Linked DNA regions of Homo sapiens: all the other regions are linked to region 2. Evidence: promoter capture Hi-C in 16 types of primary human blood cells and fetal thymus (Javierre and others, 2016). All regions are on one chromosome and are shown on one strand. Each heading gives the region's core, a stretch centred on a gene start or on the middle of the fragment in contact. The rest is flanking DNA. Distances are from core to core; before and after follow the strand shown. Region 1 overlaps CLMP (CXADR like cell adhesion molecule). Region 2 holds the start of CRTAM (cytotoxic and regulatory T cell molecule). Region 3 has its middle 23 kb from the start of TRK-TTT2-1. Region 4 has its middle 37 kb from the start of UBASH3B. Region 5 has its middle 17 kb from the start of SNORD14E. Region 6 has its middle 40 kb from the start of TRK-TTT2-1. Region 7 holds the start of SNORD14D (small nucleolar RNA, C/D box 14D).

Region 1 (3,149 bases), core at 314-2,813, 250 kb before region 2:
AAACCCCAAAGTTCCTAAAAATTACCCAGTGCTTCACTGTCTTGTAGGTTTTGCCTCTCTTCATTCTCCTAGAAAGTACAAACTGACTTCATTGTAGGTGATTATGCATCTGGGGGAAATATGGACAAATCAGAAAGAAAGAGAAACATTAACAGAGCACCTAGTAAGTGTTCCAAGCTTACCTGCCTTATCTCCAGGTGTAAGGCCCCCTTACTTTCAGTCTTTGAATGGAGACAAACTCTACAGCTTCCAGTTTTTTCCTGTTGTGAACGCATTTCCTTCTTTTCCAACTATCCCAGCAATTTTGCATTACTAAGTCAGCTCTATCACCTGCCAAGAAACCTACCCTTCCAGCTGGGCATGGTGGCTCACACCTGTAATCCCAGCACTTTGGGAGGCCGAGGCGGGCAGATCACCTGAAGTCAGGAGTTCGAGACCAGCCTGACCAACGTGGAGAAACCCCATCTCTTCTAAAAATACAAAATTAGCTGGGCCTGGTGGCACATGCCTGTAATCCCAGCTACTCAGGAGGCTGAGGCAGGAGAATCACTTGAACCCGGGAGGCGGAGGTTGTGGTGAGCCAAGATCATGCCATTGCACCCCAGCCTGGGCAAAAAGAGTGAAACTCCGTCTCAAAGAAAAAAAAAAAAGAAACAAAACGAAACCTACCCTACAGAGTACAACAGGATGTGGGGCCAACAACACCCTACAAACATTTTTCTGTTTTGTTTTGTCTTGTTTTGAGGCAGAGTCTCACTCTGTCCCTAGGCTGGAGTGCAGTGGCATGATCTTGGCTCACTGGAACCTCTGCCTCCTGGGTTCCAGCGATTCTTCTGCCTCAGCCTCTTTAGTAGCTGGGACTACAGGCATATGCCACCACACCCAGCTAATTTTTGTATTTTTAGTAGAGACAGGGTTTCACCATATTGGCCAGGATGGTCTCGATCTCTTGACCTCGTGATCCACCCGCCTCGGCATCCCAAAGTACTGGGATTACAGGCATGAGCCACTGCACCGAGCCGCAAATATTTATTTATTTCATTTTATTTTTTTGAGACAGAATCTTGTTATGTTGCCCAGGCTGGAGTGCAGTGGCATAATCTCCACTCACTGCAATCTCTGCCTCCCAGGTTCAAGTGATTCTGCTGCCTCAGCCTCCTGAGTAGCTGGGTTTACAGGCGCACACCACCACACCTAGTTTTTTCTTTCTTTCTTTTTTTTTTTGAGACGGAGTTTCGCTCTTGTTGCTCAGACTGCAGTGCAATGCCGTGATCTTGGCTCATTGCAACCTCCGCCTCCCGGGTTCAAGCAATTCTCCTGCCTCAGCCTCCCGAGTAGCTGGGATTATAGGCATGCGCCATCACGCCCGGCTAATTTTGTATTTTTAGTAGAGACGGGGTTTCACCATGTTGGTCAGGCTGGTCTTGAACTCCCAACCTCAGGTGATCTGCCCACCTCGGCCTCCCAAAGGACTGGGATTATAGGCGTGAGCCACCACGTCAGGCCACCTGTCTAATTTTTGTATTTTTTAGTAGAGACAGGGTTTCACCATGTTGGCCAGGCTGGTCTCAAACTCCTGACTTCAAGTGATCTGCTTGCCTTGGCGTCCCAAAATGCTGGGATTACAGTTGTGAGCCACCGCACCCAGTTACATTTTTTTCTTTTTTTAAATTTTATTTGTTGAGACAGGGTCTCACTCTGTCACCCAGGCTGGAGTACAGTGGCGCAGTCTTGGCTCACTATAGCCTCAACCTCCTGGGCTCAAGCAAACCACCAGCCTTGGTCTCCCAAAGTGCTTGGATTACAGGCGTGAACCACCACGCATCTGGCCCCCACAAATATTTAGAACAAACAAGTACCACATCCAGGAGAAGGGCTGTGATCCTAGCTCTTCCCCATCTGTGCCTAAAGCAGAGGGCTTTCCCTTGAGTGCTAGGAACCCCATGGAATTATCTGCAAAATAATATGTGAGTTTTTTCTGGGTCAGAGTTCATAGGTTTTATCTGATTGAGAGAACCTTCTCAGGAAAGGCTCTGAAGAGCTGTGGAGCAACACGTGATCAAAGGCAGGGTTGAGGGCTTGAGTGAAACAATTTGGAACAGCTGCAGCTGAAATGTGCCTGGGAGATGCCCATATGCTTGCATGCCTTTTTTAGTGCCCTTCTGTGTAGCTGGAATGCTCCCTCCAGGCCTTTTCTCCTTGCCTCTCAAAGCCTAGCTCAAATGCCACCAACTTGTCTGGGACACTCTCCTTGATACTATTTCAAATAAATCATTTCTTTTTCTCTGTTTAATAGTCTTTCCTTGTTAATCTCACTTGATTATAAATCACTTGAACCAAAGAAGAGATTTGCCAGGCGCAGTGGCTCACACCTGTAATCCCAGCACTTTGGGAAGCCGAGGAGGGTGGATCACCTGAGGTCAGGACTTTGAGACCAGCCTGGCCAGAATGGTGAAACCCCATCTCTACTAAAATAAAAAATTAGGGCCAGGCGCAGTGGCTCACACCTGTAATCCCAGCACTTTGGGAGGCTGAGGCAGGCAGATCATCTGAGGTCAGGAGTTCAAGACCAGCCTGGCCAACATGGAGAAACCCCAGCTCTACTAAAAATACAAAAATGAGCGAGTCATGGTGGCATGCATCTGTAATCCCAGCTACTCAGGAGACTGAGGCAGAAGAATTGCTTGAACCCAGGAGACAGAGGTTGCAGTGAGCCAGGATCGCACCATTGTACTCCAGACCGGGCGACAAGAGTGAGACTCTATCTCAAAAAAAAAACAAAAAAAAAAAAACATAAAAAATTAGTTCGGCTTAGTGAAATAGGGCAAAGGAAGCAATCAGATATGCATTTATCTCATGTGTGCAGAGGGGTAACTGTGAGTTCTGTCTGTCCTTTGTCCACAAGCAGTCACCTTGTGGGCAAATTGTGCAGGAGTACTGTAAGCTTTTTTTTTTTTTTTTTTTTTATCTTTGTAGCTATCTTATTTCTTATTCAGGAATAGAATGGAAGGCAGGCCAGGCGTGGTGGCTCATGTCTGTAATCCCAGCACTTTGGGAGGCCAAGGAGGGTGGATCACCTGAGGCCAAGAGTTCAAGACCAGCCTGGCCAACATGGCGAAACCCTGTCTCTACCAATAATACAAAAGTTA
Region 2 (3,136 bases), core at 203-2,702:
ACCAAAATTGAATCCTTATTAAGTGCCTCAGGGTACAGGGACCAAAAAAAGAAGGCATTAATTGAAGTATATAAAATAGGGAATTGAAGTACTATGTAAAATAGGAAATCGAGTTTTTTAAAGTAGCGTCCTTCAGATGCCATTCCAGATTAAATGTAGATTTAGAAGGATAGGTGCATTTCATGAAACAGAACTACAGTTTCAATATTTGGTAACAAACACACAAAAAGCAAAATTTTTGAGTGGATTTGTGAGGGATGTCCTTTGCATGAATCTGATACAATTGTAAGCAGAGACTGAGGGACAACAGGAGCCACTTCCTACACCCCTGCCCCCACTTTTGGGTAGAAAATAATTTGACCTGCTCCAAAAAGGTAACTGCTTCTATCCTTAATTTTCATAATGCTACATTAGGATTAAGCACTAAAATCCAAATTTGAAAATTATAGTAAAATGTAAAGTATAACTTACTCTTTAAAAATAAACACGAAGTTTTCATTGGTCTCATTATTACCTCTGAGCTAAATAAGTGTTGCACAGCGCTTTATCATTTTCAAAGTGCTTTCACATTTGAAATTTGATCCTTCTAACAATCCAGGGAGTTTGGTGGATCAAAAGTTTTTATCATTTTCATTTTAAGATGCAGAAACTGAGTTTCAAAGAGATTAAATCGTTTGGCTAAGATTTATACAGCAAGGAAATTTTAAAATTCAACGTGGAGGCCGGGCGCGGTGGCTTACGCCTGTAATCCCAGCACTTTGGGAGGCTGAGGTGGGCAGATCACGAGGTCAGGAGATTGAGACCATCCTGGCTAACACGGTGAAACCCCGTCTCTACTAAAAATATAAAAAAATTAGCCGGGCGTGGTGGTGGCGGGCACCTGTAGTCCCAGCTACTTGGGAGGCTGAGGCAGGAGAAAGGCGTGAACCCGGGAGGCGGAGCTTGCAGTGAGCCGAGGTCGTGCCGCTGCACTCCAGCCTGGGCGACAGAGCGAGACTGTGTCTCATAAATAAATAAATAAATAAAATAAAATAAAATTCAATACGGATGCTCTTTCAACTGGTATGCCCTTAAAAGACAGAGCCTAATAAGCTTGTTTCATCTTGCCGTAACATAGGACCCACAGAGACACACACTATAATGATCCTTTCTATACTCCTTAGCCATTGAACGAGAGATCAAATAAACGCAGTAACATCCCTCAGATGCATGATTTGAGCATGGCTTGGAAAGTATTAGCAGTTACCTGGGTTGTCTTCTACAGCAGCTCCTCTGTAAATGCAGTTGACTGACTGATAGGTAGATGTGGCAAAACATTAAGTCAGCTGAGCAACAACAAAAATAACTCTAAGTCCTTACCTTGCAAGGGGAACCATGCCAGCAAGCTGAGAACTCTCCACCACATACTGTGCTGTGCTGCTGTGGCACCTTTGTCAACTTCCTCTAGATTCTGAGACAAATGGAGCTGAGTAGTTTCTTTTAAAGGGGGAGAGGCAGTAGATCTGTGACCTCATGTGTATCAACTCCTCCATCTGTCTGGAAGCCCCCTCTTAGTTAGCTGCCCCCAGAACACCTCCTGGTGGAACATTTTGGGGACCACATGTATTATCTTGATGGCAGAGAGGTGTGAGTGATGTGTTGGTGACAAAAATTGTTTTACCACAAGTGGGTAGTACTGGTAAATCAACTAGTTGCAAGGTTTTTAGAGGGAGCATGGGTGGGAGAAATACTGTAAAATGTCCCTGTGTAGTGACGTCATCCTTATTTTTACTTTTCTAGTTTATTAGATAAATACAATTAGATAATTTTTGCTCAACCTTTGGGAATATTTTATTTCTATGCTGACATCAATTTATAATTGTTGTCGGGGAGGAATTCATTCATTCATATAGATATACTCATTTTTGAAATCTATATATCTGTCCACCCACCCATCCACCCATCTTTTCATCCACCCACTCACAAATACAAATCTATTCATCCACCTATCCATCCATCCATCCTTCCATCCATCCACCCACACATCCATCCACCCATCCATTTATCCTTCCATCCACCCACTCACTCATGTATTACCTGCCCACTCATTCCCCATCCACCCATCCATCCATCTATTCATCCACACATCCATCCATCTCTCCATCCATCCAGCCAGCCAGCCATCCATCTATTTATCCATCCATCTATCCATCTATCCATCCATCCATCCATCCATCCATCCATCCATCCATCCATCCATCCATCCATTTATCCACCCATCCATCCATTCACCCATCCATCTATCCATCCATCCATCCGTCCATGACCTATTCATTCACCCACCCATCTATCTATACATGCAAATACTCATCCATCCACCCAACCACCCATCTATCTATCCACCCACGCATTCATCCATTCACCCACTCATTCATCCATTTACCCACCCATCTATCTATACATATGTCCGTCCGTCCATCCATCCATCCATCCATCCATCCATCCATCCTTCTATCCACCCATTCATCTTGTCACCTGTACAGCATCTAGTATGCACTACTTTGAGACATGCTCAAATAAAAAACATAAATTCCTTGTTTTTCAGGAGAATATAATCTAGTGGGGGAGACAATGTACATATGAACAGTTCTGGTATTTAATTTTCATTAATTGGACAAATTGAGATAGATTTAATGTAGTTTTTCCAGGAGCACACAGTAAAATATTAGTAAGTTTATGTTTAGAAAACAGAGATCAGTCTGCAATGCTTGGAAAATGAAAAGGAAACACTACTTACTGGCTCTAATTGAAATTAGTGTTAATACTCTGATAAATTTGATGAAGTTTGGGTAGGAAAAGTCTTACTCATCAAAAATGTCTTCCAAATATTTTGTTGGCTGGGCACAGTGGCTCATGCCTGTAATCTTAGCATTTTGGGAGGCTGAGGTGTGAGGATCATCTGAAGCCAGGAGTTCAAGACCAACCTGGGCAACATAGTGAGACCCCCATCTCTACAAAAAATACAAAAATTAGCTGAGCATGGTGGTGCATGCCTGTAGTCCCAGATACTTGGGAGGCTGAGGTGGAAGGGTTGCTTGAATGCAGGAGGTTGAGGCTGCGGTGAGCCGTGATCACACTACTGTACTGCAATCTGGGT
Region 3 (3,312 bases), core at 49-2,548, 260 kb after region 2:
TGAATTTGAACTCAGGATTGTCAAATTCCCCAGTTTAGAAGAGAGGTGCTCTGGGAAGCAGAAGAAAAACACAAGAGGAAGGTGTATTAGACCATTTTCACACTGATAAAGAACTGCCTGAGACTGGGTAATTTATAAAGCAAAGAGGTTTAACTGACTCATAGTTCAGCATGGCTGGGGAGGCCTCAGGAAACTTACAATCATGGTGGAAGGGAAAGGGAAGCAAGGCACCTTCTTCACAAGGCGGCAGGAAGGAGAATGAGTGCAGGAGGAACTACCAAACACTGACAAAGACATCAGATCTCATGAGAACTCACTATCACAAGAACAGCATGGGGGAAACTGCCCCCATGATCCAATTACCTCCACGTGGTCTCTCCCTTGACATGTAAGAATCATGGGGACTACAATTCAAGATGAGATTTGGTATGAGTGAACTCCCATTCACAATTGCTACAAAGAGAATAAAATACCTAGGAATACAACTTACAAGGGACGTGAAGGACCTCTTCAAGGAGAACTACAAACCACTGCTCAAAGAAATAAGAGAGGACACAAACAAATGGAAAACCATTCCATGCTCATGGATAAGAAGAATCAGTATCATGAAAATTACCATACATCCCAAAGTAATTTATAGATTCATTGCTATTCTCATCAAGCTACCATTGACTTTTTTTTTCACAGAATTAGAAAAAACTACTTTACATTTCATATGGAACCAAAAAAGAGCCCAAATAGCCAAGACAATCCTAAGCAAAAAGAACAAAGCTGGAGGCATCACCCTACCTGACTTCAAACTATACTACAAGGCTATAGTAACCAAAACAGCATGGTACTGGTACCAAAACAGATATATACATCAATGGAATAGAATAGAAGCCTCAGAAATAACACCACACATCTACAACCATCTGATCTTTGACAAACCTGACAAAAACAAGCAATGGTGAAATAATTTAATAGGTGTTTTCCCAGCACCTATTTAATAAATGGTGCTGGGAAAACTGGCTAGCTATATGCAGAAAACTGAAACTGGACCCCTTCCTTACACCTTATACAAAAGTTAACTCAAGATGGATTAAAGACTAAAATGTAAAACCTAAAACCATAAAAACCCTAGAAGAAAACCTAGGCAATACCATTCAGGACATAGGCATGGGCAAAGACTTCATGACAAAAACACCAAAAGCAATTGGAACAGAAGCCAAAATTGACATATGGGATCTAATATAACTAAAGACCTTCTGTACAGCAAAAGAAACTATTATCAGAGTGAACAGGCAACCTAGAGAATGGAAGAAAATTTTTGCAATCTATCCATCTGACAAAGGTCTAATATCCAGAATCTACAAGGAACTTAAACAAATTTACAAGAAAAAAACAAACAACCCTATCAAAAAGTGGGCAAAGATATAAATAGACAATTCTCAAAAGAAGACATTTATGCGGCCAACGAACATATGAAAAAAAGCTCATCATCACTGGTCATTTGAGAAATGTAAATTAAAACCACAATGAGATACCATCTCATGCCAGTTAGAATGGTGATCATTAAAAAGTCAGAAAACAACAGATGCTGGTGAGGATATGGAGATACAAAAATGCTTTTACACTGTTGGTGGGAGTGTAAATTAGTTCAACCATTGTGGAAGACAGTGTGGCAATTCCTCAAGGGTCTGGAACAAGGAATACCCTTTGATCCAGCAATCCCACTACTGGGTATATACCCAAAGGATTATATATCATTCTACTATAAAGACACATGCACATGTATGTTTATTGCAGCACTATTTGCAATAGCAAAGACTTGGAACCAACCCAAATGTCCATCAATGATAGACTGGATAAAGAAAATGTGGCACATATATACCATGGAATACTATACAGCCTTAAAAAAGAATGAGTTCATATCCTTTGCAGGGGCATGAATGAAGCTGGAAACCATCATTCTCAGCAAACTAACACAGGAACAGAAAACCAAACAGGGCATCTTCTGACTCATACGTGGGAGCTGAACAATGAGAATACATGGACACAAGGAGGGGAACATCACACACCCATGGCTGTCAGGAGGTGGGGGGCAAGGGGAGGGAGAGCATTAGGACAAATACCTAATGCATGCGGGGCTTAAAACCTAGATGATGGATTGATAGGTGCAGCAAACCACCATGGCACATGTATACCTATGTAACAAACCTGCATGTTCTGCACATGTATCCCAGAACTTAAAGTAAAATAAAAATAAAAAAAAGAGAGAGGTTATACATATCTCTCTGAGTGGCTGAAAAGAAAAAAAAAAAGATGAGATTTGGTTGGGGACACAAAGTCTAACCATATCAGAAGAGAAGAGGATGCTGGAGCTTAGCTCAGTTACTCTGAAAATTTCCTTAGGCCAAGCTGAGGAGGTAGGGGGAAAACAGTACCTCGATATTTCCTTTTTCTGTCCCTGGGTCCTTTCCTAGGCTTTGTGCTCCCGGCCCAGAGGCCAAGACGAGAAAGGAATGGCAGGAAGATTTGGGACTTTTTATGCAGCCAGTCAAGTAAGGTCATTATGAGTCTCTTGCCCAAATAATAGCAGGGCCCTAGGGTAATTCTTTGGTTCCTAGACGCATGAATGGTCTGCTGTATTAACCGGAGCTGGAAGATGGTAAGTTTGGAGAGCAAGTGCTCACATGCTGTGCATCCGGACAAGACTGTGCTTCCGTGACTAAGGTCTATGAATACACCGAGCACGTGGTTGGGCCTGACACCCGTGTCAGGTACTGGTAGGAGCAAGCAGTACTGTGTAATGTAGTTCTTTGAGAGGAAGATCTCAGCCACCATCAGAAGCATAAAAAGAAGGGTTTTGTTTGCATTAAGTCTGGAAAGAAACAGTTCACACCACTGGGTGGCAGTATGGCGCGCCTCTTTGTTTTTCCTGAGTGGCAATACTGTATTTTCCAGACTTACTAAGGAACCATGTTCCTCTCGGCCATATATAACTACCCTTTGCTTCCTGTCCTGCTCCCTGTGTCTCTGTCCCTACGCATTCTGAGCGTCAGCTGTGTGTGTGTGTGTGTGTGTGTGTGTGTGTGTGTGTGTGTGTGGTTGTCGTTGTCAGTGGTGATTTAGGAGAGGAATAAACATTTCCGATCAGTTCCGTCTTCTTTCCACACATTGACTTTCTGTACCTCTGAACTGCTGGGTTAGGTCCTTGTTAAATCTTTATTAATAAAGATTTATAGTGAATAATAATAATTTAAAAAAAAACCGGCAAGCCTACACACAACACTCTTGGGGAAGTTCATCTCTAGACTGAGATGTAAAATA
Region 4 (3,222 bases), core at 639-3,138, 220 kb after region 2:
TCCAGTCTTCTCTTCCCCCCAACCCCTGGCAAACACTAATCTACCTCCTGTTTCTATACATTTGCCTATTCTAGACATTTCATATAAATTGAATTATGTAATATGTAACCTTTAATGTCCGGCTTCTTTCACTTGGCATAATGTTTTCAACGTTCATCTGCCTTGTAGCATGTATCAGTACGAGTTTATTATGCCTAATCTGAAAATCTGAAATCTAAAATGCTTCAAAATCTGAAGCTTTTTGAGTGCTGAAATGACGCTCACAGGAGATGCTCATTGGAGCATTTTGGATTTTGGATTTTGGGATTAGAGATGCTCAACCGTAAGTATAATGCAAATATTCTAAAATTTGAAAAAATCTGAAATCTGAAATACTTCTGGTCCCAAGCATTTTGAATAAGGGATAACTTAACCTGTACTTCATTCCTTTTTATGGCTGAATAATATTTCATTGTATGGATATACCACATTTTATTTATCAGTTTATCAATTGATGAACCTTTGAGTCATTTCCGCATTTTGGTATAATGAATAATGCTGTAATGAACATGCCTGAATAAGTTTTTGTGTGGATATAGGTTTTCAGTGCTTTTGGGTATATACTTAAGAGTGGAATTGCTGGGCCATATGGTAACTCTACGTTTAACTTTTGAAGAAGCTGCAAAACTATTTTTCAAAGAGGCTATACCACTTCACTTTCCTACCAGTAATGTATGAGGGTTCCAATTTGTCTATATCCTTGTCAACGCTTATTATTGTGTGTCTTTTTTGATTATAGCTGTCTTGGTGCTTATGAAGAAATATCTCATAGTGGTTTTGATTTGCATTTCCCTGATGAGTAATGTTGTTGCATGTCTTTTAATGCAATTTCAGCTGACTGTATACCTTCCTTGGAGAAATATCTATTCAAAATTTTTGCCCATTTCAAACTAAGATTATTTGTCTTTGTTGCTGAGTTGTAAGAGTTTATAGATTCTGGATGCAAGTCTTTTTTTTTTTTAAAGGGTATGTGAACAGAAACACATTTATTACAAAAAAAAAGAAAACCCAAAATGAAAAACAAATTCACATTGTATTGAGCTACAATATGGCAGCAGATTAAAGAAAAATATTTTTAGACAGTTTAGGATAACTCCTAACAGAACATAGCCTTGTTGCCACGTGACAGGACACAGGATTCCAAGTACTCGGTAGCGGCGAGTGAAGCGGGCATTGATGGGCCTGCTCCCCCTGCTCGGGCCTCCGAACCCGCCTTGCATACCACCGTGTGGGATGGGGTGGCCCCGGGAGGCCCCGCCTGAGGCAAAGCTGCCGAGCCCTGACATCCCTTCTCAGTTCATCATGTGGCCAGGCCCGGAGTGACCGGACATGCTTCTCTCACCACCTTGCCATCTCTTGTGATCCCTGTCCATCATGCCCCCATCAGCTGTGCCCTGCCATGCTCAGTCATCCTCTCTTCAGCCACGGTCCCCCGAGTAGTCATGTCTGCCCCTGGGGGGAGGAGGCAGCCCCCGGCCCTCGCTCATCCTCCTGTCGGAGCCACAGCCCCCCCAGCCATCACGGGAGTCCCGGCTGTGGCGCTCTGGTCCTGCATGGCGTTCTGGGTAATGCTGGACATCACAGGGCCAGAGGGAAAAAAGAGCTTCAGTGTCAGCCCCCAGACCCCAAGGCTTTTCAGGCAACACGCTAACGATGACAACGACAGTCACTCTGGACAGAATTGTTGGCAGGCCGTATTGGTTCACATGACACAGCTGCCTCCCTGAAATCTGTAGGCCAGAGGCCCTGTGCCCTAGGCTCACGGCCTGGTACACAAAAGGTACCAGTACCAAGGCATCTCCAAGGCAGGTCCCCATGGCACCACCAGAGCTGGGAGGACCACCAGGAGTCACCCACTAAAGATGATGCTTACTAGAGAGATTCCCTGGGTCCCACAGCCCAAATGGTTAGTGCCCAGAGCCAATAGTATTCTCTTGTTAAGTGTCTTCTACTAAGGAAAGTTCAGGTTTATAAACTTTAAATGTGTGCATATTCTGGAAATAGTTTTTACAAATTTCTTCCTTCCACACTGAAGGAAGTATCAAACGTAGCCCTTCATCTGACCAATTGCTAGGCAAGCATCCTTCCTCATAGTCAAGTTTCTCAGAAGTTTCTGCTGGGTGCCCGGTACAGGGCCTTGCACCTTGCTCTGCTCAGGACACAGGACACTCAGAGATAAACGGCTGGAAGACAGCCGTACCCTTGGCCAGTCCCACCATTCCCTCCTCTGTGTCATTGTTTTTGTGAGCCACGTGGCTGACACAGACCAGGAGTTCTTCACCCTGCTATTTGAGGGAAGACCAAGAGAGGGCGAGTCATACTCTATGCCCACTTCTTTGATGGCCACGGTTAATATTTACACCCACAGCCTGTTTCTGTGGCTGGAAGCACTTTCCAGCCTGACTTTCACAAAAGCTAGTGAGGTAGCTTTGGCTCTACAGTCCTGTTCTTTCTCTTTCCACAAATACAGTATGTGGCCTCTGGGGTTTTTGCCCCATGACCATATTGCAAGAGAAAAGAAACGAGAAAGGAGTCCTGGTAAGGAAACCCCCTTGACGGAGCCTGGTCGTTGTCCATGTCCAAGTTCACCTCCCCATTAAACGGAGAGGTCGGCCAGGGCGAAGGCAAAGATGGCGGCATGCTCCACCACGTGCAAGATGTACTGCGTGACCACTGCCTGCTTCCCTGGCCTATTCTCCCAGTGTGTGCTCTGACGCCTCCCCTCAACAACGTAAGAAAAGGGACTCGTGAAATAAGAGCTCCTTAGTATTTGAAAATTGAACCAACATTTTTCTGTCCAACCAACCCAGCTAACAGTTCAATGAGGCCCATAAGTTCTGTGCTAGTTTTCCCTGTAGGGAGATATCACCATTTGCCTTTGGGGTAACTCTGATGACTCATTTATGACTGTGTGTGTGAGAAGAAAGGATCAAACCACCTTCCACTGTTAGGAGAGCGTATCTGACACCTGCATGAAAGCAGCTTGTGGCCAGGTGTGCTGGCTCACATCTGTAATCCTAGCACTTTGGGAGGCCGAGGCAGGAGAATCACTTGAGTTCAGGAGTTCAAAACTGGCCTGGACAACACAGTGAGACCCCGTGTCTATTAAAAAAAAAAGTGGCTGGCAATGATAAACACGTTTGTACAGACACGCACCCGCCTCATGTAAACTCCCCACCACCC
Region 5 (3,260 bases), core at 306-2,805, 200 kb before region 2:
TTCACCATGTTGGCCAGGCTGATCTCGAACTCCTGACATCAGGTAATCCACCTGCCTCGGCCTCCCGAAGTGTTGGGATTACAGGTGTGAGCCACCACGCCTGGCTTGATTTTACATTTCTAATCTTATTTGATTGCAACAATAATGTCACAAGGAGGCAAGGACAGAACCTCTTAGACAGAAACCTGGAATATTTACATTTTTTTAGGCTCTTAGGATATTAAGAAATGTCAAACCAAGATTATAAAAATTGTGATATATTTAAAACTTTATATTTAATGAGTGAATGCTTTTATTTTATTTACTTATTTATTTTTCTTTCTTTTTTTCTCACATTTCTCTGAAGAGTGAATGCTTTTTAAAATGCAATGCTGGGCTGGGCGTGGTGGCTCACACCTGTAATCCCAGCACTTTGGGAGGCCGAGGCGGGCAGATCACGAGGTCAGGCGATCGAGACCATCCTGGCTAACACGGTAAAACCCTGTCTCTACTAAAAATACAAAAAATTAGCCGGGCGTGGTGGTGGGCGCCTGTGGTCCCAGCTACTCGAGAGGCTGAGGCAGGACAGTGGCGTGAACCGGGGGGAGGCCAAGATCTGGCCACTGCACTCCAGTCTGGGTGACAGAGCGAGACTCCATCTCAAAAAAAAAAAAATGCAATGCTGGCCAGGTATGGTGGTCCATGCCTGTAATCTCAGCAATTTAGGAGGAAGAGGCAGGAGGATCACTTGAAGTCAGGAGTTTGAGACCAGCCTGGGCAGAAAACCAGATCCCATCTCTACAAAAAAATTTTTAAAAAGTAAACAAAAACGCAATGCTGGCCAAGTATGGTGTCTCCTGCCTGTAATCCCAGCATTTTGAGAGGCCCAGGCAGGAGGATCACTTGAGCCCAGGAGTTCAACATAGTGGGAGCCCATCTCTACAAAAAGTTTAAAAAATTAGCCAAATGTGGTGGCATGTGCCTGTAGTCCCAGCTACTCGGGAGGCTGAGGTGAAAGGATGGCTTGAGCCCAGGAGGTCAAGGCCACAGTGAGCTGTGATTGTACCACTGCACTCCAGCCTGGATGACAGAGTGAGACGCTGTCTTAAAACAAACAAACAAACTACCTAAAAAATGCAATGCTAAATACTCGTCCTAGACAAAAATGTATTTTAAAAATCCCATTAGTGTGTGCTGCAGAAGGGGTGGCCCAAAAATGACTCATACATTTCCAACGAGGAACATCTCCTATTTTTTTTTTTAATTGAGATGGGGTTTTGACATGTGGCTTAGGTTGGTCTGGAACTCTTGGGCCCAAGCAAGCCACTGGTCTCAGCCTCCCAAAGTGCTTGGATTATAGGCATGAGCCACTGCTCCTGGGTGATCATTTCCTTTTAGTCTTATCAGTATTTCTCTTTGGCTGAGTGTGTGTGTGTGTGTGTGTGCGTGTGTGTGTGTGTGTGCGTGTGTGTGTGTGTGTGTGTGTGTGAGAGAGACAGTCTCACCTTATCGCCCAGGCTAGAGTGCAATGGCACAATCTCGGCTCACTGCAAGTCCACCTCCCGGGTTCAAGCGATTCGTGTGCCTCAGCCTCCTGAGTAACTGGGATTACAAGCGCGTGCCACCACACCCGGCTAATTTTTTGTATTTTTAGTAGAGACAATTTCACCATGTTTGGCCAGGCTGATCTTGAACTTCTGACCAGCCTCCCAAACATGGGAGGATTTTGGGAACTTTGACCTCCCAAAGTACTGGGATTACAGGTGTGAGCCACCGTGCTTGGCCTGAATGTGTATTTATTTTAAGATAATGTCAAAATCTAAACTTAAGGCCCCAAATTAATGTGAGGTTCAGGTGAAATGACCAGTTCTCTCTTTCCACCAGCACTTGCCATTGTGAAAAGCCATGGTGCAAATGTCATTCCCATTTTTACAAACGAAGAAGGCGTCTCAGCAAAGGTATTGTTTCTGCCTGAAGGCTGCAGAGCAAATGTGGTAGTGGAACTTGATCGGGAGGCGGAGGTTGCAGTGAGCCGAGATCGCACCATTGCACTCCAGGCTGGGCGACAGAGTGAGACTCCTTCTCAAAAATAAATAAATATAAAAATAATAAATAAATAAATAATAGACAACTTAAAATTTATAAATAAATAAATAAAAGACTGGAACTTGGGTTTTGGCTGTAAGCCTAAACACTCGAGACACCAAGCCTAACTGAGGGGGCTATTCATTTTGGACAGTGAGTGCCGAATATACCTCTGGGATCTGCCAAGGAAAGTGGGCTGCCACGGAGGTAGTGAGATACCAGGCTCCAGGAGCCACCAACAAGAGGTCTGACTAAAATGATTTGGGCTTGCTGCAGAGGATATTCAAGAATGGGGTGTCAGGGTGCGAGGAGGAGGGAGCTGCGTTAGATTACTTCCAGCTTCCTTTCAGACACCCCCCAGCATAGGGGCCAAGCCCAAACCGACAGCACAGCTCCACTCTCCGGGGGAGGCGGGCTGGGCTGTGCATTCATTTCCCCACCTTTTCATTCGTGGCAGCCTGCCACCGGTTGTTGGGCATCCATAGCTTAATTTGAACAAGTGGGCTCTGGTTTCCTGAGGCGAACTGTCCGGGCGCCTCAGCCATCCATCAGTATTCTCTTCAGTCCCCTGGCAGCTGCTCACTCCGGGCTGGCTCAACCTGCACTGACCTCATCTTCCCACACAGAGCAGAGGAGGATTTGGAAAAAATTAGTTATATTAGTGACTCCCCGAAACACTCCGTTTACTTGTGATATGACAAATATTTCAGCCATTAGGATCTCTCCGTCTCTTATCATCTTAAATGCACTCACTTACATTCCAAATCACTACTTAATTTAAAAGCCTATTTGTTGAGATTGTGACAGGCCCAGGGAAAAGGAGAGACAGACACTCACTCAGCTCTGGCTGGAATAGAATCAGATTTGGAACTTTGATTGAATCTTTCTCCCCAGGACTTATGCTCAGTCAGGTATCATCTAAACACTTAGGGCACGAGAGACTTCCAGGGCACCCACACTGTGGAGATTTATAAGGTCTGCTTCGAAGTAGCCATGTGGCATGGTGACCTTGGGCAAATGACTTCATTCCTGGGTGTCCTTATGCTTTCTGACCCCCGGATACGGTGACGCATTTGGTGAATTTCTTTTTTTTTTCTTTTTCTTTTTTTTTTTTTTTTGAGACAGAGTCTCGCTCTGTCGCCCAGGCTGGAATGCAGTGGCATGATCTCCCCTCACTGCAACCTCTGCCTCCAAGG
Region 6 (3,293 bases), core at 663-3,162, 240 kb after region 2:
TATTCAGTTAAGGTTACGGAACTCCAGGGAGCTGCAAATTTCCATGTGTGCCTGGCTCTGCAGCTTCTTGCATTGCTGTTCTGTGAGTCAGATCATGAAATCCATGATCTGAGAGCTGGAAGGGCCTTTCAACATGGTTCAGCCCAAGGTCCTTTTTTTCCAGATGGGAACAGTGTGGCTGTCTGAGACCACCCTGCCTGTCAGTAGAGAGCCAGGACAGGGACTCATGGCTTGGGATCCCTGACCCAGCGCCTTTCTCTACACCAGGTTGTCAATCACTGTTTAGGAACTTGCGATAATGCAGCACAAGCTTTTTTCTCTCTGGGCAGCTGACTGTGCTTGAAACCAAATGACCTTGCATACTCTCGTGGCTGTTCTCAAGGACCACCCAATCACTCAGGCTAATACATCACTTTTCAGCAAAAAGCTTGTGGTATCATCATCAGGAAACCCAGTCAGATACTCCAGGGACCATGGTAGAGATGGAGGAGGTTAATACAAGCATGGAGAGATGCTGTCTAGAAGTCATCATCATTTTCTTGTTTATGGGTAGTATTAGAGCCAAATGAAGTTATGACTGTAAAATTAGTGATAGTAGTGATTTATTAATATGATACTAATAATGTCAGTAGAATTTGATGTCAATTTTGATTTGCCTAAGTCCTTTTCTTCCTTCCTTCCTGCCTGCCTGCCTTCCCTTCCTCCCTGCCTCTTTCCTTCCTTCCTTCCTTCCTTCTTTTTTCTTTTTTCTCTCTTTTTTTTTTTGAGACCAGGTCTTGCTATGTCACCCAGGCTGGAGTACAGTGACACAATCATAGCTCACTGCAACCTTGACCTCCCAGGCTCAAGTGATCCTCCTGCCTCAGTCTCCTGAGTAGCTAGGACTACAGACACATGCCACTAGGCCCAGCTAGTTTTTGTTTATTTTATTTTTTTGTAGAGACGGCATCTCATCATGTTGCCCAGGCTGGTCTCAAACTCCTCCCGCCTTGGCCTTTCAAAGTTCTGGGATTATAGGTATGAACCACCATGCTTGGCTCTGACCATTTTCATAGATCACCTGAATTCTCCTTGGTTTGGGTCCACCATAAACTGACCGTATGACCCTAGGACAAGGCTTCCACCTTCCTGGGCTCCAGCTAGATCACTTTTAGAGTATAGATTCCACTTCTGCCTTCCAGAAGAGGAGCTGTTACAGAGAATGATAGAGTTTTGACTGAAGTTGACATCTCCTGTATATATAATAAATTGGCTTCAAGATTGTGCTTGACAGACTAATGTAATCATTAGTTAAGGTCTTTTTTTTTTTTTTTTTTTTTTTTTTTTGCTGAGCAGCTCAGGGCTCTTTCTAGCTTTTACTTAACCGTGCTTGTTTTTATATTCTCTGCAGGATGACAGTCTGAATTAGAGACTGGCAAAAGGGACAAGGGCTCTGTTCTGAAGGGATCAGCCTGGCTGTGAATCTTAAAAATGGACCTCCATTGACCCCAAATGCCCAGGTCTGCCATTCAGAAGGCCACATCTAATGTGGGTGCCCATGTGAGAAGCAGAACTGCATAGCAGCCCCCCAGATTTGGTGCACATTAGAATCACCCTGGGACCTTTTCGAATTCCTGATGTCCGGGCTGCACCCCTTCCCATCAGACCAGAAAGTCTGGGGTGGGAGTCAGGACCAGGGTTTCCTAAAGATCAAGGTGATTTCAGTGTGCAGCAAGTTTGTGATTCATTGAGACGGAAGACAGGCCCCTTGTTCATAAGCGAAGCAGAATGGTATCTTCAGCCTGTCTTTTACCTCCCCTTTGGATTGATTTTATTGAAGATGATGAAAAAGAGAAAAAAAAAAAAAGCTACAAAAAGTACAAGCCAGGGAAAGCAGAATGAGGAAGGTGGTTAGGATTAGGGAAGACATAAAAGAGGAGGGGGTCATGGGGGGAAACTTAGGGAGGGAAAAAGGAAGGGGAGAACTTCACAGGGGTTTGTTGTAAAAGGGTGCATTTGCCTTCTCAGCTAAAGGACATGTGATGCCATAGAAGGTGGTGGGAGGGATCAGGAGGGGAACAGCATCCCTGAGAAATATGGTGGAATGTGGGTGTGGAGAGGTAAAAATATCCATTGCTACACTGTGGGCATCTCCTGGGGGATGTTTCTGTGCTGGAGGACTCATTCTTTGTAATTAAGAGAAGGGAATCCTTCTGCCACATTGCATGAGTTCCCCAAGTGAAATTTATATGCCAGGTGCAATTTATCAACTTATTAGTAGACAAATAAAAGTTTAAGCATTCAGTGTGCTTAACTATGCCCTTCCCCAGGTACTTGTGTTGCCCAAACCTAGAGACAAAATTGCTTCTTTCTACTTGAAGGCTTATACAACTTGAACTTGAAGCTCTTCTGCAGAGAGGCTCAGAGAGAAGGTTATTAGGTGCTCTGGGGAGATTATCTGAGGTCACACTGGCTTTCTTCCTGAAAGGTTCAGTGTCAATAAGAATGGGAGGCTGTGAAGCCAAGCAGACAACCCCCATGTCTGGGTTGGTTGTTCCCCTATGACTCACAGACACTGTGCCTCCACCAGCACAGCGCTTCCCAAACTCCAGTGTGGCTGTTCCCTTCTCTGTGTCCTTCCTGGGCTATAAGCCCCATGAGTGTGGATATTGCTGTTCTCGTTCATTCTCCACTGACTCTCCGGCACCTACTATGCTGTAGGTGCTGACTCCACATTTGTTCAGTGAATGAATGCTGGTTTTCCAGCTTACTTGTAAATAAACTTGGCTGGGTTGCTAATCTTCTCTAAGCTCCAGCTTTTTTTTTTTTTTTGAGGTGGAGTTTCACTCTTGCTGCCCAAGCTGGAGTGCAATGGCTTGATCTGGGCTCACTGCAACCTCCACCTCCCTGGTTCAAGCGATTCTCCAGCCTCAGCCTCCCAAGGAGCTGGGATTACAGGTGCCTGCCACCACACCCTGCTAATTTTTTGTATTTTTAGTAGAGATGGGGTTTCACTATGTTGGCCAGGCTGGTCTTGAACTCCTGACCTCAGATGATCCACCCGCCTCGGCCTCCCAAGGTGCTGGGATTACAGACATGAGCCACTGCGCCTGGCCTATTTTTTAATATGAAAAATGAGGATAACAATACACCCTTCATATTGGGGGTGTGTAGTGACCATTAGAAACACTCAATGTAAAGTGCTTTAGAGGGTCTTGCTCTAAGTGGGCACTTGGTGTGTGACCACTGTAAGCAGTTCTTGTTCCATGGGTAGGTGGAGTTCACCACCAACCCCGTTCCCTGCAAACCTGCAG
Region 7 (2,700 bases), core at 148-2,647, 220 kb before region 2:
TTGAGTTTTATCAGAAGAGCTATGAAATTGAAAGTGTTTTCATTTGACACCTTTTACAGATGCCAAACGTCTGATTGGACGCAGATTTGATGATGCTGTTGTCCAGTCTGATATGAAACATTGGCCCTTTATGGTGGTGAATGATGCTGGCAGGCCCAAGGTCCAAGTAGAATACAAGGGAGAGACCAAAAGCTTCTATCCAGAGGAGGTGTCTTCTATGGTTCTGACAAAGATGAAGGAAATTGCAGAAGCCTACCTTGGGAAGGTGAGGTTGGTTTTTCAGTATGGGGTGCATTCCGGAGTAGTTAAAAGCCCGATGACTCCCGGGGGCACTGGCACCTGGCGAGGGAGGGGAACAGATGGGGCTCAGCTCAGGGTTAAGACCACGTGCCCAACAGTGCCCTAGGCTCTCTAGGTAGATGGGTCTGTCAACACCAGAAACCAGTGAATCTTGACAATTACACAGTAATTTACATTTTGGTGGGGGGGGTGCTCCAGCTGTTCTTTCACCAGCATTAATCCATTTGCTGGAGTTTGCATATATGTAAGTATAATAGTTACCAATCTGTGGTCTTTTCCTTATTCCTAGACTGTTACCAATGCTGTGGTCACAGTGCCAGCTTACTTTAATGACTCTCAGCGTCAGGCTACCAAAGATGCTGGAACTATTGCTGGTCTCAATGTACTTAGAATTATTAATGAGCCAACTGCTGCTGCTATTGCTTACGGCTTAGACAAAAAGGTATGTACCATTTGTGATGCAAGTTCGGATTATTTTAAGATTAATTTGATCCATCGTAAATTTAAATGAGATTGTTTTTAACGGCAGGTTGGAGCAGAAAGAAACGTGCTCATCTTTGACCTGGGAGGTGGCACTTTTGATGTGTCAATCCTCACTATTGAGGATGGAATCTTTGAGGTCAAGTCTACAGCTGGAGACACCCACTTGGGTGGAGAAGATTTTGACAACCGAATGGTCAACCATTTTATTGCTGAGTTTAAGCGCAAGCATAAGAAGGACATCAGTGAGAACAAGAGAGCTGTAAGACGCCTCCGTACTGCTTGTGAACGTGCTAAGCGTACCCTCTCTTCCAGCACCCAGGCCAGTATTGAGATCGATTCTCTCTATGAAGGAATCGACTTCTATACCTCCATTACCCGTGCCCGATTTGAAGAACTGAATGCTGACCTGTTCCGTGGCACCCTGGACCCAGTAGAGAAAGCCCTTCGAGATGCCAAACTAGACAAGTCACAGATTCATGATATTGTCCTGGTTGGTGGTTCTACTCGTATCCCCAAGATTCAGAAGCTTCTCCAAGACTTCTTCAATGGAAAAGAACTGAATAAGAGCATCAACCCTGATGAAGCTGTTGCTTATGGTGCAGGTAACAATGGTATCTCAATTAACCCTAAAGGCAGGCAGGCCCAAGGTGACTCGCTGTGATGAGTGATTGTTAAACATTCGTAGTTTCCACCAAAAGCTTGGCTAATGATGGCAACACCTTCCTTGGATGTCTGAGCGAGTGATAGTTAAAACAGGAGCTATGTACTGGGTTTTCTTTTAACTTCTTTTAACGTTAACTTTTTGTTTGCTAGCTGTCCAGGCAGCCATCTTGTCTGGAGACAAGTCTGAGAATGTTCAAGATTTGCTGCTCTTGGATGTCACTCCTCTTTCCCTTGGTATTGAAACTGCTGGTGGAGTCATGACTGTCCTCATCAAGCGTAATACCACCATTCCTACCAAGCAGACACAGACCTTCACTACCTATTCTGACAACCAGCCTGGTGTGCTTATTCAGGTATGTTTCTGTACTTCTCTTGTTTGGCTTACTGATAACAGATAAAGGGAAGTCTTGACTGACTCGCTATGATGATGGATTCCAAAACCATTCGTAGTTTCCACCAGAAAGTCTTATGTTGGCCAGTTCCTTCCTTGGATGTTTGAGCGACCATTCTTCCTTAGCAGGACCCTAGCACTGTCACAGACCTGGAGTCCATTGTAGTAATTTGTTTTATTTCCTACCAAGGTTTATGAAGGCGAGCGTGCCATGACAAAGGATAACAACCTGCTTGGCAAGTTTGAACTCACAGGCATACCTCCTGCACCCCGAGGTGTTCCTCAGATTGAAGTCACTTTTGACATTGATGCCAATGGTATACTCAATGTCTCTGCTGTGGACAAGAGTACGGGAAAAGAGAACAAGATTACTATCACTAATGACAAGGGTAAGGAGGCACTGTCATCTGGTCTTGACAGGGATAATGGTATTTCAATTGAGTTACTGGTGCCTAAGGGCGTCTAGCTAAGAGAAACTAGAGTTACACATACACAGGTAATTTAAGGCTTTTACTTAGAGTTAATTTCTTTCCTAGGCCGTTTGAGCAAGGAAGACATTGAACGTATGGTCCAGGAAGCTGAGAAGTACAAAGCTGAAGATGAGAAGCAGAGGGACAAGGTGTCATCCAAGAATTCACTTGAGTCCTATGCCTTCAACATGAAAGCAACTGTTGAAGATGAGAAACTTCAAGGCAAGATTAACGATGAGGACAAACAGAAGATTCTGGACAAGTGTAATGAAATTATCAACTGGCTTGATAAGAATCAGGTTTGTGTTTTTTTTTTTTTTTTTTCCTCCCCCACTCAATGGAGGGGAAGGGGATGGTAAACCAAGCTTGAGCTGGATTTCAGTGTAGGGTCAC

What was found. Contacts are between HindIII fragments. The CHiCAGO score rates a contact against its expected background, and 5 or more counts as called.
Region 1: a fragment that was not itself captured here is called in contact with the fragment with the promoter of CRTAM in region 2 in 2 of 17 cell types (total CD8 T cells and naive CD8 T cells); the score reaches 11.2 in total CD8 T cells.
Region 3: a fragment that was not itself captured here is called in contact with the fragment with the promoter of CRTAM in region 2 in 3 of 17 cell types (naive CD4 T cells, fetal thymus and total CD4 T cells); the score reaches 5.7 in naive CD4 T cells.
Region 4: a contact is called between a fragment that was not itself captured here and the fragment with the promoter of CRTAM in region 2, in 2 of 17 cell types (megakaryocytes and endothelial precursors). The highest score is 11.4, in megakaryocytes.
Region 5: a contact is called between a fragment that was not itself captured here and the fragment with the promoter of CRTAM in region 2, in 1 of 17 cell types (naive CD8 T cells). The highest score is 5.5, in naive CD8 T cells.
Region 6: a contact is called between a fragment that was not itself captured here and the fragment with the promoter of CRTAM in region 2, in 6 of 17 cell types (megakaryocytes, activated CD4 T cells, erythroblasts and 3 more). The highest score is 7.5, in megakaryocytes.
Region 7: a fragment that was not itself captured here is called in contact with the fragment with the promoter of CRTAM in region 2 in 2 of 17 cell types (total CD8 T cells and naive CD8 T cells); the score reaches 15.8 in total CD8 T cells.

Annotation. Positions count from the first base shown.
Region 1 is chr11:123,085,413-123,088,561 of GRCh38, reverse strand. The region is part of intron 2 of CLMP (CXADR like cell adhesion molecule); the gene reads left to right. Among named protein-coding and RNA genes, the nearest start is that of HSPA8, 25 kb to the right of the region's middle. The HindIII fragment of the contact is 2,767 bases long and covers 180-2,946 here.
Region 2 is chr11:122,836,816-122,839,951 of GRCh38, reverse strand. It overlaps CRTAM (cytotoxic and regulatory T cell molecule), which reads right to left and starts at 1,452. Exons shown (of 10, transcript NM_019604.4): 1 at 1,360-1,452. The coding sequence starts at 1,405. The HindIII fragment of the contact is 4,925 bases long and covers 1,095-3,136 here.
Region 3 is chr11:122,580,822-122,584,133 of GRCh38, reverse strand. No RefSeq gene overlaps it. Among named protein-coding and RNA genes, the nearest start is that of TRK-TTT2-1, 23 kb to the right of the region's middle. The HindIII fragment of the contact is 6,967 bases long and covers 1-3,312 here.
Region 4 is chr11:122,617,244-122,620,465 of GRCh38, reverse strand. No RefSeq gene overlaps it. Among named protein-coding and RNA genes, the nearest start is that of UBASH3B, 37 kb to the left of the region's middle. RefSeq lists an enhancer at 1,434-1,934. The HindIII fragment of the contact is 3,297 bases long and covers 240-3,222 here.
Region 5 is chr11:123,039,542-123,042,801 of GRCh38, reverse strand. No RefSeq gene overlaps it. Among named protein-coding and RNA genes, the nearest start is that of SNORD14E, 17 kb to the left of the region's middle. The HindIII fragment of the contact is 6,954 bases long and covers 1-3,260 here.
Region 6 is chr11:122,598,429-122,601,721 of GRCh38, reverse strand. No RefSeq gene overlaps it. Among named protein-coding and RNA genes, the nearest start is that of TRK-TTT2-1, 40 kb to the right of the region's middle. The HindIII fragment of the contact is 2,966 bases long and covers 430-3,293 here.
Region 7 is chr11:123,058,158-123,060,857 of GRCh38, reverse strand. HSPA8 (heat shock protein family A (Hsp70) member 8) reads left to right here. Exons shown (of 9, transcript NM_006597.6): 3 at 60-265; 4 at 590-742; 5 at 830-1,385; 6 at 1,597-1,799; 7 at 2,028-2,226; 8 at 2,374-2,606. SNORD14D (small nucleolar RNA, C/D box 14D) reads left to right here and starts at 1,863; the gene lies at 1,863-1,949. It overlaps SNORD14C (small nucleolar RNA, C/D box 14C), which reads left to right and starts at 1,436; the gene lies at 1,436-1,523. The HindIII fragment of the contact is 172 bases long and covers 1,312-1,483 here.